Linked DNA regions of Homo sapiens: region 2 is linked to region 1. The links are contacts of gene promoters, found by promoter capture Hi-C in human tissues and cell types (Jung and others, 2019). All regions are on one chromosome and are shown on one strand. Each heading gives the region's core, a stretch centred on a gene start or on the middle of the fragment in contact. The rest is flanking DNA. Distances are from core to core; before and after follow the strand shown. Region 1 holds the start of ZNF816 (zinc finger protein 816). Region 2 overlaps ZNF160 (zinc finger protein 160).

Region 1 (7,153 bases), core at 4,117-6,616:
GAGGCATTTCATTTCTTTTGCTAGTTCATTGCTCTGGCTAGGACTTCCAGTATTTATTGAATAGAAAAAGTGAGAACGTTCTTGCATCATGTGAGATCCTACGGGAAAAGGATTCTATTTTCCCTGCTTGGTTATCTCCACATTGGTCATTTCATCAATGGTCTTTCTATTGGTGAGGTAAATTTCCTTCTCCATCTATTTTGTTTAAGATTTCTATGATGATCAGATGCTGAATTTTGTGAAATGATTTTTCTCCATCTGTTGAGATGATGTGGTTTTCATCTTTCATTCTGTTCAAGTGGTATATCACATTGATTTGCTTGAATATGTTGAACCATCCTTGCATGCCAGAAGTAAATGGCACTTGCATATCTACAATCCTTTTATATATCCTCTTGAATACAGTTTTCTAGTACAAGTGGTCTTCAAGAAGCTCATGGAAAAATACATATTATGGAAAAATTGTGCATGAATTTCACAGTTTTTGCACCAAAATAAACTGATACAAATCTGTTATAACATGTCTGAACAGGCTCTAGTTTGAGGCACTGAGAAGGATAAGACATGAGTTTGAAAAGAGACTGTATCAAAGGAATACAAATTCTGCTAAAATTGAAACAAGAAGAAACATAAAATTTATGATGAGAACAGTTGCAGTGTCTCAGGTCTGTAATTCCAGTAATTTCAGAGGCCAAGACAGGTGGGTCACGTGAGCCCAGGCATTCAGGACCAGCCTGGGCAACATGGTGAAAACCCCTTCTATACAAAAAATACAGAAATTCACTGGGCAGGGTGGCACCTGACTGCAGGGCCAGCTACTGTGGAGTCTGTAGCATGAGGATGGCATGAGCCTGGGAGGTCGAGGCTGCAGTGAGCTGTGATCTTGCCACTGCACTCCAGCATGTCTCAAAAAAAGAATACTTATGGTAAAGTTTGGGTAGATGAATTATGATATCATTGATGCTTTATGAAAAGGTTATGGGGACGATGCCCAAAAGAAATCAACAGTTTGTAAATGGATAACTAATTTTGAGTTGGGAGAAGACAATGTTGAAGGTTACACGTGGAGCAGCAGGCAGACCATCCACATCAGTTTCAGAGAAAAACAATAATCTTGTTTGTGCCGTGATGAAGAGGACTGACAGCTAACAGCAGAAACAATAGTCAGGAGGTTGAGAACAGGCTGGTTAACATGGTGAAATGCCATCTCTATTAAAAATACAAAAATTAGCTAGGTATGGTCGCAGACACCTGTAATCCCAGCTCCTTGGGAGGCTGAGGTGGGAGAATCGCTTGAACCCAGGAGGTGGAAGTTGCAGTGAACCGATAGTGCCATTGCACTCCAGCCTGGGCAACAAGAGTGAAACTTTCTCTCAAAAAAAAAAAAAAAAAAAAAAAAAAAAAGATGTCAAGCCCCTTCTCTTCCTTTCTCCACCATCATGGTGTGTACTTGACTCTGCTTCTCACCAGATCTTCTCATAAGACTATCAGGATTAAGCAATTCCTGGCCAAGAAAAAAAGCAAAATTGTTCCATTCCCCAGTGGATTCAGATGAAAACTGGTAATAAAATCAGGTACAACTTTAAAAGGAGACATTGGAGAAGAACCAATCCGTGTCTATAAGGAATTGTACATGAGATGGCACACATTTTTATGCTGTCTGAGCATTACAATCACGTTACCATATCAAGCAGAAAATGTCACCATTATCTGGAGAGTTGGACATGTTTTATTGGGAATATATTTTTTCTCTCTGAATCTGTTATGAACATGTTGGTTGGCTGGGTTCAGTAATAAATATGTGAGGCTTTTCATTTCAAAAAAAAGTCAAATGATGTAATTCCATAGAGTACCTTAATTCCCGTATTGCTTTTTGGTTTTTTTTGAGATGGAGACTCCACTGGGTTCAGTGGATCACACTTGTGGTCCTCACACATTCGGAGGCTGAGGTGGGAGGATTGCTTGAGATCAGGAGTCTTCTGGGAATCTTCTCGCCTCCGCTAACCCAGTTCAGGATAGACCCTTGGACTTTACTGTTTTGGAAAATCTATATAAACCAATATCAGTGTGTCAAAGCATTATGTCTGTCAGAAGGTTGTGAAAGAAGCTTAAAAATTACTAAGCCAAAGAGAAAAGTCAGGCTGGGAACTGTGTCAGACAAACCTGCCTCCCATTTTATTCCTAAAAGAGACAGCTACAAGGATTTTTTACAAAGCTACATAGAGGCTGGGTATGGTGGCTCAGGCCTCTAATCCCAGCACTTTGGGAGGCTGCGGTGGGTGGATCGCCTGAGGTCGGGAGTTCGAGACCAGCCTGACTAACATGGAGGTACCCCGTCTCTAGTAAAAATAGAAAATTAGTCAGGCATGGTGGCATATGCCTGTAATACCTGCTACTCGGGAGGCTGAGGCAGGAGAGTCACGTGAACCCAGGAGACAGAGGTTGTAGTGAGCCGAGACCACACCATTTCACTCCAGCCTAAGCAATGAGAATGAAACTCCATCTCAAAGATGAATAAATGAATACATAGATACATAAATATTTAAAATATAAAGATGAGGTTTCACCATGTGCCTGGGCTGGTCTCCAACTTTTGGCCACTAGCTATCTTTCTGCTTCGGTCTCCCATCATGCTGGAATTACATGCACGAGCCACCATCCCTGGCCACATTATGCTTTTTTAAACTTGCTAATATTTTAGATATGCTAATTTCTTCCTAAACATAATTATGTTTTAGCTAATTACTAGTATTTGATAAATGAAACCTTCGATAACTAGGGATGTGAGTGAAAAATATAGTTCATAGTACATGTTAACTTACAGATATTGCCATAAAATTATTGCATGCAGAAATGCGGTGATGTAAAAGTTTATAATTTTTTTTTTCTTTTTTTGAGATGCAGTCTCACTCTGTTGCCCAGGCTGGAGTGCAATGGTGAGATGTCAGCTCACTGCAACCTCTGCTGCCTGGGCTCAAGCAATTCTCCTGCCTCAACCTCTTGAGTAGCTGAGATTACAGGCGCATGCCACCATGCCCAGCTAATTTTTGTATTTTTAGTACAGATGGGGTTTCGCTGTGTTGGCCAGGCTGATCTCAAACTCCTGACCTCAGGGTGATCCATTCGCCTAGGCCTGCCAAAGTGCTGGGATTACAGGTGTGAGCCATCACACCCAGCCAATTTTGTAATTTAGTTATATTTTCTTCAGGGCCCACGTAAAACAGAATAACCTGACTGCAATGTATCCTTAGTAATATCTCATAATTATTCTCTATATGAAAATAAATCCCAATGTTTGAAGACTGCCTATTTTACAGCCTTTGTTGTTCACACCTGATAGAACACTTAGGAGAGAACAACAAAGAAAACACCCAAAATAGATTACAATTGGATGGGTGTGGTAGCTCGCCTTTAATCCCAACACTTTGGGAAGCTAAGGTGGGAGGATTGTTTGAGTACAGGAGTTCAAGGCCAGCCTAAGCATCATAGTGGACCCCCGACTCTACAAAATATTAAAAAATTAGCCAGGCCTGGTGGTGAGGGCCTGTGGCCCCAGCTAGTTGGGAGGTGAGACGGGAGGATTGCTTGAGCCCCAGAGGTTGAGGTTGCAGTGGGCAGTGTTCCCACCACTGCATTCCATCCTGGGTGTCAGAACTAGGTCCTGTTTCTAGGGAAAAAAAAATTACAACTTGAAGATAAAAAGTACATTTTCTACTTATTTTCAGAAGGCACGTAAAGTGAATTTGATATTACAATACACTTAGGAATTATTTTTTAAAAAAAGAATTTGAGAATGAGGACCAAGGTCTAATTTTTTTCTCTTGCCCAAATTCCTATCTAAAGGGTCTGGGGAGTCATGCCCTACAAACCATAAATACTCATCAGATGGGTTTTATTTAGTCCTATATATCCTGTCTTACTTTCCAGTCTGACTCTGGAATAACGTGACAAAGAAGAAAGTCAAAATATTTTACCCCAAAACATGTTTCTGTGCCATATTTTGAAATGGTCCTGCAAAGCTGTTCTTTGTGAGGGGTACATGTGCATTTGTAAAGAATCTCTGTTAACATAGCTAGATCTTTTTCTTCTAGGCCCTACCAATCCTGAAGAGATTAAGTAAGAATCTCGCACTGTTTAAAGGTCTGAATAGAAAACACTTATCATCTATTATCTCTAAGGGCAGCCAATAGAAGACTTGAAAACAACATTGGTCTCCACAATCTTTTACCTTAACGTGAACATTTCCTCTCCGTTGATCCCAGGTATTTAGACAAACTCAACCAATTGTCAATCAGAAAATGTTTCAATTTACCTGTAGCCCAGAAGTCCCCGCTTTGAGTTGCCCCTCCTTTCTGAACCAAAGCAGCGTATTTCTTAAATGTATTTGATTGATGTCTAATGCCTCCCTAAAATGTCTAAGAACAAGCTGTTCCCCATCACCTTGGACACATGTTCTCAGGACCTCCTGAGGGTCATTCATATTTAGCTTAGAATAAATCTCTTAAGATATTTTACAGTTTGATTCTTTTCCACGACAAAAATAACTCATTTTAAGTGCAGCATGAAATAATAAACGTAAGAAACAACTGGGCAACTTATATGCACTGTTACAATGTCAGTGCTTTTTTTAAATCACTTTTTTGTTTATTGAGACGGAGGAGGGAGCTCTGGGATAGAGGGTCTTACTTTGTCGCCCAGGCTGGCCTGGAACTCCAGGCTCAGCGATCCTCTCGCCCCTGCTTCCTGAGTAGCGGGGACCCCAGACTCCTGCCACCCCGCCCGCATCCCTGCTGTGTTTAAGCACACTCCTCTGCTCCGCACCCCAGACGGTGGCCCTAGGGAAGTCTCAGGAGCTGAGCACAGTGTGGACTCTCCCACTCCAGTGAATGGAGAATTGAAAGGGAGAGGATTTCTATTCTGTTCTGTGGACCGTCAGCATGAAATTGTACCTTTCGCTCAGGCAAGGCTTTGCATTTCGCATTCTAGTTTGCATTCCTGCCGTAGACAACTTCCAGGCTTTGGAATTAAATTGCTAAAATAAATTTCAATAGCAAGGAACTTTCCCGGATCCAATTACCGCCACACGGCGACTTCTCAGGGAGGTACTATTTCCCTGACTGCTGAGCTGCTCCAGCCTCACTGGCGGGTTTCACCTCTAAAACCTTGAAAACAGAGGCGCGGAGAGCGAGATGGAGAAAAGCTCAGGCCCCGCCCCTTTCCCGCCCCCGCGGACTCCTCCCAGCCCAAGACTCTTCTCTTCCGCGCCGGGCCCCTTGTCCTTTGCACCCCGCCCCGGCCTCGCCCAGGCCCCGCCCACCTCTCGGGGATCTGGCCCAGGTCCCGCTTCTGTCCTGCGCCGATTGGCACAGACCCGGAAGCGGATGGCGTGGACTGAAAGTTGCACGGCGGCGTGTGCGTTTCCTAGTTGTCTGGTGCTGCTATATAGGGGACGTGGGGTCCCCACAGACCTGCAGGTTCCGGCCCCTCTTTTCTCAACCCAGAGCAAATTGAAACGTCCGGGTGAGAGTCCGTGAGTCGCTTCCTTTTGAGTTTAAAGTTGCCCTGAGGCTGGTCCCGTCCCCGGTCTTTCTGCAGTGGGGCCGTGCAGACACCTCCTGTCGCGAAACTTTCCTTAGCAAAACCCTTTCTGACGCGTCCTCCCGCCTCGCGCTGTTTCAAGTCCTCACCCGGAGCTGGATTCTTGCCCTGGGCAAGAGCGCTTCCCAGCCTCGCTCTAGTCGGCCCCTGGAGCGCAGCGTTGCAGCCCCGCAGCCCCAGGGTGGCCGGTGCTTTGTGGCCACTCCTGGGCTCTTTCCCTTTCCATCTGAGACGTGGTGGAAGTGGGAGGGCTACAGGGAGAGTACCCTTTGATCCTTTGTTACTACGGGTGGGGAGATGGGGTTATTCCTTTTGGTCTAGTTTTGCAAAGTTCACATTAATTGGCCTTAGATTCCCAGAGCCAGGACCCAGATTTTCACTTTTCTTCTTTGTTGTTGGAGATGGGTCTCTGTGCCTACAGACTAGTATAGCCTGTGCCTGGACTAGTATAGTATAGTATAGTCTCTGTGCCTGGACTAGTATAGTCCAGCGGGGGCCGTCCAGTCTCAATGAAATTCTGGATGAGCCTAGGCAGTCTGTAATTTAGAAAATTTACGTAATGAGTTCTTTTCAGTGTGGTTTAAGCCTCACCAAGTGACTGTCCTTGTTGTGCTGTTGTATACAACTTCTGTCCTAGACAATTGAGCTTTCTTACGGGGTTGCTGAAGTTTTTTCTTTCCTTAGCTACATAGTATTGTCTAATAACTGAGGTTTTTAGGACCTAGAAGTTGCTAGTTTGGGCCTTCTGAGCTGGAATTGTGTGAGGAACTGGATCAGTGGGCACCAACTCTCGGGCTTCCTGAGGCCATCGGTCTCCAACAGTAGTTCCTCCGCGTACATAACAAGAAGCAACATTGAGGGAATGAGCTACATTTTCCGTTAACTGGAGAAACAAGTTCCTTGTCTTTTTTGGAAGCTCTGGTGCTGGCAGATTTAGCTCATTATAAAAGGCTTGAAACACTGGTTTGGGAAAGGGCCTGGGGACCTCCCCTCGGACTAAAATGGCAACTTGGGGGGTTACCCTTGTCCTATTGACCGTCAGGATTACACCTTCTCTTTTTCTCTAACGGGGGTCTAGGGAATTAGTGATTATTAGTTCTAGTGGGTTACAGTGACTGCTAGCACAGGAGGGGTTGGCTTCTTTTTTTTGAAAGTGAACCGGGTCTTTTTTGTCATTTTTCTAAGTAGCCTAAATAACACATGGGCAACAGGCAAATTTTCACAGACCTCTGCCTCATGACAAACATTTATTTTCTACTGTGCAGCTCCTTTCTTAGTTAAGAGAGCCACATCTTAATCTGAGCTTGTTACTATTAATGGCTGCACAAGCATCAAATTTAAAGTTTCTTGTTTGGGGATTCTTTTTTCTTCTGTTCTAGTTATTATTTTACTTGTGTCACCTAGGAAAGGACCAGTTCTTAATCTTATTTGAAAAACGGTGGTTGCAGGAGGCTTAGATGGGTTATAACCCATAGTAGGTTTGTCATTTCCTGGGCTACGTACCTTGTATTGAGTGGAATTATACAAATAAGATCCTTTTAACGTGCCTGTACAT
Region 2 (6,925 bases), core at 2,220-4,719, 130 kb before region 1:
GCAGATGTCCCCCTCAAGTCCCTTTTGTCAGTTCTATTTTCTGTAAATGTGGAAAGATGGGCTGGATTGACTCAAAACCTTATTCCAGCAGAGCTTATGTGTTCATGAAAAAATTTGCTGAGAGAGCTCATCTCTATAGCTGACAGTCTTTCACTGTTTTCAACACCAATAGCCATGTTTTCACAGTTCTGCGTTTCATTAGTATGTTGTGTTTTTCTGGAAAAGAGGAATTAAATGTTTGGGATCAATGTGATAAAGCCATGAAAGGGAAGTTTCTTTTGCCCAGGTATGTGAAAGAAGATCCTGGAATTTTCCAGGGGAGGCGTGAGAAAGTCTAGTGTTGCCCATTAGCCCTTCGAGGCCGTCATAGAGTCAGATACATCTTCTAATTCAACTTGGATGACTTAGTGAAACATCTCCCCGTCTAGCCCTCAGTAAATCCACCTGCAACGTGAAGGTGAGGGACTCAGTCAATATACCTCAGTCTGGGCAATACTAATCCCCTTAATGTTTGGCAGAATTGGGTGTACATCTGTGTTTTGCAGTTCTTCTAGGAATTGGGGAGTGCCCACTGCAATTAAAAATTTAAATGGGACTCAGTCCTTTAAAATTTAAAACAAAACAAAACCAAAACCACAAGGATGGAAGCTGGGGTGTAGACTCAGAGGCAGAGAGACCATCTTTGGAGGCCTTTCTCTGCATTAGAGTTATGGCTAAATCTAAAGCAGTCATGTCAGTCCCTGGTAGGGAACCCTCCACCGGCTTCCCGTGTTCCCCAGGACAAAAGCCCAACTCCTCACTGTGGCTCCACAGCCCTGCGTCCAGGGCCCCTGCCAGTGTCCAGCCTCCTCCTGGGAGCTTGCCCTCATCTCATGACTCCCTCTGCCCTAGTCACATTTGTTTTTCTCTTTTCCCAAACATCAAAACCTTTCCTGTCTCAGTCTTTGTCCCTCCTCTTACCCTATGTCCCCAAATCATCACAGCTCTGTCCCTTTCTTCTCCTTCGGGTCTAGCCTCAGAGCTGTCTTCCACCCTCTTGCACCCCCATCTGAAATTCTCTCTGCCTGTCAGTCTCTACCACGTTACTCAGGTTTCACTGTCTCCGCATCCATCACCACATCGGACACTCTTCTGCATGGATTATTTTGAGTGTTTTGTGTCTCCATCTTGGCCACGGGACGACTGCAGCACCTGCTCTGGGGTTGTGGTTCAGATGCTGGGGCTGGGGTCGGGCTGAGGAGTCCTCAGGGAAGACCAAAAGGATAGGGCGGGTAGTGAGGATGGTCTCATATTCTGGAAATTTCATCCGTAATTGGTCTAAACTTCCTGTGGCTATTTATTCCAGTCTATGTAAGAGCAGAAGGCCTCACTGAGGCCTGAAAAGCCCCGCAGACCCTGTGTCCTCAGCCAGTGCCGAGGCGTCCCCACCGCCTTACTCCAGCTCCCGGGTCTTCCGCGCTCTACACATCACCGGGGCCCGGTGGCCATCCTGGGCAGGGGCTTTGCCTTCCAGCAGGTGATGCGCTCGCAGTCAGGGGTCCTGGATTCCCTTCAGGAAGGGTGGCGAGAAGTTCAGAAGCTAAGTGGGCCATGAAGGAGGCACTCCCTAAACAGCGGGGGAATTTTGCAGGGGACTGTGAGTGGAGAGACAAGGGGACAATGGCAGCCTCCCTCATGAGATCTGGGGCCTCTCTTTTTCTTGGACATCCTCCGCCAGCTCAATCCGGCCAATCTTCACCTGCCTTTAAACTGGATTCCATGGTGTCCCCAAATTGGGGGCAATTCCTTCCAGCATGGCCAACTTCTAGAATCTAGACTTGAGGCCCACTGTCCTGCAGATAGCAGTTTGTGTCCATTCCTGCCGCATCGCTTGTGTCCAGAGGCCTTTCAATCCAGTGTGCTTCTCAGGCTGGAAGAGAAGTAGAAAAATGGGGACAGGTGAAGAAGTCCTTAGAGGTGTGGAGTGAGGCGTGGAAGCAATGCTGAGCCTCTAGAGGAGCTGGATGAATGCTGCATGCACCTGGCCCACAGGTGACTGTGGGCTCACGGGATGTGTGGCACACTTGGAAAGAAGTCTCAGGTCTGGCTGTAGCACCTGGAAGTGGGTTTTGGGGTGGTTGTGGGGCTGCAGGATCATTTTGTAATGCCCTGATGTCTCAGCTCAGGTTACCTGGGAAACAGATGCTGACACAGAGATTTGCATGCAGGAATTTAATTCGGAAACTCATCATCACAGTGAAGAGGACTGAAGGCAGTGGAATCAGGCAGAGAAAAACATCCCGAAGTGTACTTAGAACCAAGACCTAAGCTGAGCCCAGAGGGAGCTTCAGCAGCAGGAGGATGGGCGCCTTGGCCTGAGGGTGTGGATCCCAGAGCTGCTCCACAGCATCCGCTCCACGGGGTGATTTCTGTGGAGGCTTTGGGAAGTGCAAAAACCATCCTGAAACCCATAGAGGAAAGATAGGAAGAATCTCAGAGATTATTTTCTGGGTTGCCTTTGGCATTCGGGGTATTTTCAGTTGCAGATCAATAAGCTTTCAGTTGTGTTTTGGAAGATGAAATGATCATTTGGAGTGTTTCCTTTCCTGATGTTGGGGTCTAATTGCATCATTAGAGACATCTCTGTTTTATTGGTAGGTTTCAGTGGTATTCCCCTGTGGGGTGGAGTCACTATGAGTGGAAATACGTTGCCCTGGGTCAGTGAGTTCCTGGGGTGTTTGTGTATATTATTCCATGAGTTACTGGGGCTTGTGAGATTTCATAACAGGGCTTCTGGATCTTTATGAAGTATCTGGGGATTGTGGGATCTTTATGAAGTATATGGGGAGTGTGGGAGTTTGTAAGCGTGTCTGAGTCCAGAGGGCAACGGGGATCCTAAGAATCAGGCGCAGATGGCTTTCATTAGGGAGGGTTTGTTGTGGGGGCGTCTGTGGGTGCAACTCAAGAGGGAGTGATTATCAGGGTCCCAGAGTAAGGGAAAGATTTCTCCAAGAATCAGAGTGAAACACAGCACACTGACCTGCGGCCCAAAGGCTTCCACTGGGACTGTCCTTGGGAAGATAAAGCTGCCACATTCTTGCAGCCAGGCCGGTGGCCTCTCCCTGTTTATTCCAAGATAACAGAGTCACAGAGTCACAAGGCAGCTGGGGAGCTGAGGGGCAAGGTCCTTGAAACCCGCTGTGGAACATGGACCTTTCTCCAGTGCAGAGGGGCCACGGGGCCCTGGGAAGGGAGTTGGAGGGTTACAGCCCTGGTCATGGCAGGGAGACGCAGGAACTGGAGGCAGGAAGAGCTGTGTTCATCCCCACAGGGTGCCCCTCCGCTCAGGAATTTGTGCAATAGAATGGGGTGAGCTAATGGGGTCACATTTAGGGAAAGGAGTCTTTCTGTCCACCCAACACACATCTCATCCTATGCACACGCTTCTCCCTTTCCCCGTTGTCCTCTCTATGATGGGAAACTAATGCTTCCCCAGGCGGGTGATTGAGGGAGAGGACGGGTTGGTCTGTTTGTCTCTCTCCTTTCTCCCCTCCCTCAGGTCTCCTGCCTGCCTTTCTGCTGCTCTGTTCAGACTCTCACTTCCTGCAGTTCTGCAGTCAGTTTGCCCCACGCAAGACCCAAGGATCTGGGTCTGTGAATAATATTCAAGCCAACATCATTGCCAAGTGAGAAATCTTAGACCCCAGGACCTTTTTTCCATGGAGGGGCCTGGGCACAGAGACAAACTCTTCTTTTTGCAGAATTTAGGGTCTTTTATTGGCCACGTGGGTCTGCTGAGCCTCAGACAGGGATCCCATAGTCAGCCAGATGTGTTTCTGGGTGGACTTGCGCTTGCCCTTCCACAGGTTGGTAAGCAGAGTGGTCTCCATGAAGGGCCCTTGGCTCTGCCCCTCAGTTAGTCCTGCTCAGCTCCCTTCTCACGAAAAAGACCACCCCAAGGACAAACATGCAGTCCACCCCTGCATACATCAGTCTCCCAAAGTGAAGACCATAAAAATGGCCTAATATTTCATTCATTCATTCAGTTATTTATTTATTTTGAGACGGAGTCTCGTTCTGTCTCCCAGGCTGGAGTGCAGTGGTGCGATCTCAGCTCACTGCAACCTCTGTCTCCTGAGTTCAAGCAATTCTCCTGCCTCACCCTCTGGAGTAGCTGGGACTACAGGCATGTGCCACCACTCCTGGGTCATTTTTTTGTATTTTTAGTAGAGACAGGGTTTTACCATGTTGGTCAGCTGGTCTTGAACTCCTGACTTCATATGATCTGCCCACCTCGGCCTCCCAAAGTGCTGGGATTACAAGCATAAGTCACCGCACCTGACCATATATCATTTCCTTTTAATTATTTACTTATTTAATTTTTACTACACTCCCATTTTAGCAATACTAATATTTCATTTAATGTTGCTATTATTATTTACTGTTATTGAGACAGAAGCTTTGTGTTAGACGCTGATCTCATGTAACGTGACTCTTTTATAATTGTGCTTAGGATTCCACGGGAGATGAGTGAATAAACGACTGAACATTGTGCATAAACAGACAATTTATATATTCATAAGATTAAGACATTTTGTATTCCTCATCCGTTATGCAAAGCAAAGACTAGACACTCTGGAGTCATCTCTCATGAGAACAAACCTGCGGACAGCTGGGAAGCACACCAGCCACCAACTGGGAGTATTAAAAAGAGCAATCCAGTCTCCAAATCAAGGGGAGGGTTCAAATCATAGACAAGCTGCAGAGCCACCGGGTCTCAGAGTTTCCCGCGGAAACGCTGGGACTCGCTACCAATCCCATGAGCGCACCTGGGGATTTTAACGTCTGGTGGGATGGTGGATTCCGAGTGTGGTTGGACAGGGCTGGAGTGCCCTGAAAGGCCTGAATGCTCTCCTGCCGGTGAGAAAACTGGAAGCGGATTCTGGGAGGGAGCTGTCGCCAGCGAGAGGCGGGTCTTGGATAGTGGGGAGAGGCCAGGTGGGGAGGGTGGAAGCCACCGTGAGGTGGGGTCTGGGCAATGGGAAAGGGGTGCAAGAGGGTCGTGTGGGAGGGTGGAACTGCTGTGGGCGGGGCCTGGGCAGTGGGGAGGGGGCGGGGTGAGGAGGGTGAAAGTCGCCCTGGGGTGCGGTCTGGGCAATGGGAAAGGGGTGGAAGAGGGTGGGGTGGGAGGGTGGGACTACCGTGGGGGCGGGGCCTGGGCAGTGGGGAAGGGGTGGGGTGAGAAGGGTAAAAGTCGCCCTGGGCTGGGGTCTGGGCAACGGGAAAGGGCTGGAAGAGGGCGGCGGGATGGGAGGGTGGAAGCTGCTATGGTGCAGCCTGGGCTGTGGGAAGCGGGCAGGGCCGGGAAAGGAGCGGGCCTGGGCTCTCTACTCCTCTTGGCCCCAGGTCATTTTCTGCTATGTCAGCCTTTCTCTCCACTAGGACTGGATCAACAGCATTGCACTGCTAAAATAAAGTTTCAGCTAATTGAAATTAGCCGGGGATGCTTCCTGCTTATTTTCAGTTAATAAGCAGGGATGCTTCCGGCTTATTTTCAGTCCAGGGACGCTTCCTGCTTATTTTCAGTTAATCCAACATTTCAAACAATTTAAGGCAAAAGAACAGAATGGTACTGGGCCACTTAATTGAAGGCTAAGGTTTTTTTACTCTTACATTGAAAACGATTTAAGTGAAAAACTCATTTTGTTTGCAGGTGGAGACAGGCATCCTACCATTAAGAGGATCACAACTCATCTTAGCTCAGGGTACCAGGAGGGGTGCAGGGGCATCAGCGGATGGTCCCTGTGGGGCAGTGGTTTCATCCTGGAACTGGCAATTAGAACCGTTTAATTAATCCGGGACCTGATTTGTCTGTTTAGAGGATGAAACGAAGGTGAAATTTCTACTTGTGCTGTGTTCAGTTTCATAGTGACAACGATCGGAACATCGTTTCCATTTCTATTTGCCAGGCACCGGGATGGAAGAAAGAGAACTCTGGGCTTAGGTCCAGGGGCGTTTCAAGGACCCTGGACCAGGGTGTGTGGAGGAACGGTATCTGGTAATTTAGGTCGCCAACCATTCCCTTAAACATAAAGAATACTTTTTAAAATAGAGGAATTATAGGGAAAATCTCAGAGATAAATTTCTGGGTTACCTTTGGTATTTTGGAGTATTTTGTGTTGTAGATCAAGAAGCTTTCGGATGCATTTTGGAAGATAAAATAGTTTGGAGTGTTACCTTGTATGATATCGGGGTCTCATTGGAGCATGTGCATCACTAATGCCTTGTTTCCTTATCTTTCAATTGTTGATCTATTACACAATTGTAAGGGAATTTTAAATGTATATGGCTTTGAAATGAAGTTGGTGCATCTCATTTTTTCAATTAGCTGAAATTTTCCTTTAGCAGTTAATGATGTCTCTTATGTGTGACAGGAACATTCAGTACACCCACAGTGAAGGCTGAGTGCCCTTCAAAGCTTTTTTCTTCTGTTTTTTGTTTTTTGAGACAGGCTCTGTCACCCAGGCTGGAGTGGTGCGATCATAGCTCACTGCAATCTCACACTCACTTCAGCCTCCTGAATAGCTGGGACTATAGACATGCACCACCACACCTGGATAATTTCTAAATTTTTTTGTATAGATGGGGTCTTACTATGTTGCCCAGGCTGGATTCAGTGCCGAGTCTCAAAGGCCAAGGTACCAGGGCAAGTTCATTAGTTTTGAGTTTCACTTGGTGTTATGTGTTGACAATGTAGAAGCCGATTTTGACCCTGTAATCCTAGCAGATAGCAAAGGTTAAGCCTCCCCCTTCCATCCTTTCTTCTTTTTTTTTGTTTTTTTAGATGGAGTCCTGCTCTGTTGCCCAGGCTGGAGTGCAGTGGCACGATCTTGGCTCATTGCAGCCTCTGCCTCCCAGGTTCAAGTGATTCTCCTGCCTCAGCCTC

Evidence for each region. The method cuts DNA at HindIII sites, captures the fragments that hold promoters and counts their contacts. A contact is called where the count stands out against the background at its distance.
Region 2: a contact is called between a fragment that was not itself captured here and the fragment with the promoter of ZNF816 in region 1, in 1 of the 25 tissues and cell types used here (IMR-90 fibroblasts).

What each region holds. Positions count from the first base shown.
Region 1 is chr19:52,961,094-52,968,246 of GRCh38, reverse strand. It overlaps ZNF816 (zinc finger protein 816), which reads left to right and starts at 5,366. Exons shown (of 4, transcript NM_001202457.3): 1 at 5,366-5,520. ZNF816-ZNF321P (ZNF816-ZNF321P readthrough) reads left to right here and starts at 5,366. Exons shown (of 4, transcript NM_001202473.2): 1 at 5,366-5,530. RefSeq lists a silencer at 5,139-5,338 and an enhancer at 5,399-5,648. The HindIII fragment of the contact is 7,894 bases long and covers 601-7,153 here.
Region 2 is chr19:53,093,334-53,100,258 of GRCh38, reverse strand. The region is part of intron 1 of ZNF160 (zinc finger protein 160); the gene reads left to right. Among named protein-coding and RNA genes, the nearest start is that of ZNF160, 6.6 kb to the left of the region's middle. The HindIII fragment of the contact is 5,693 bases long and covers 623-6,315 here.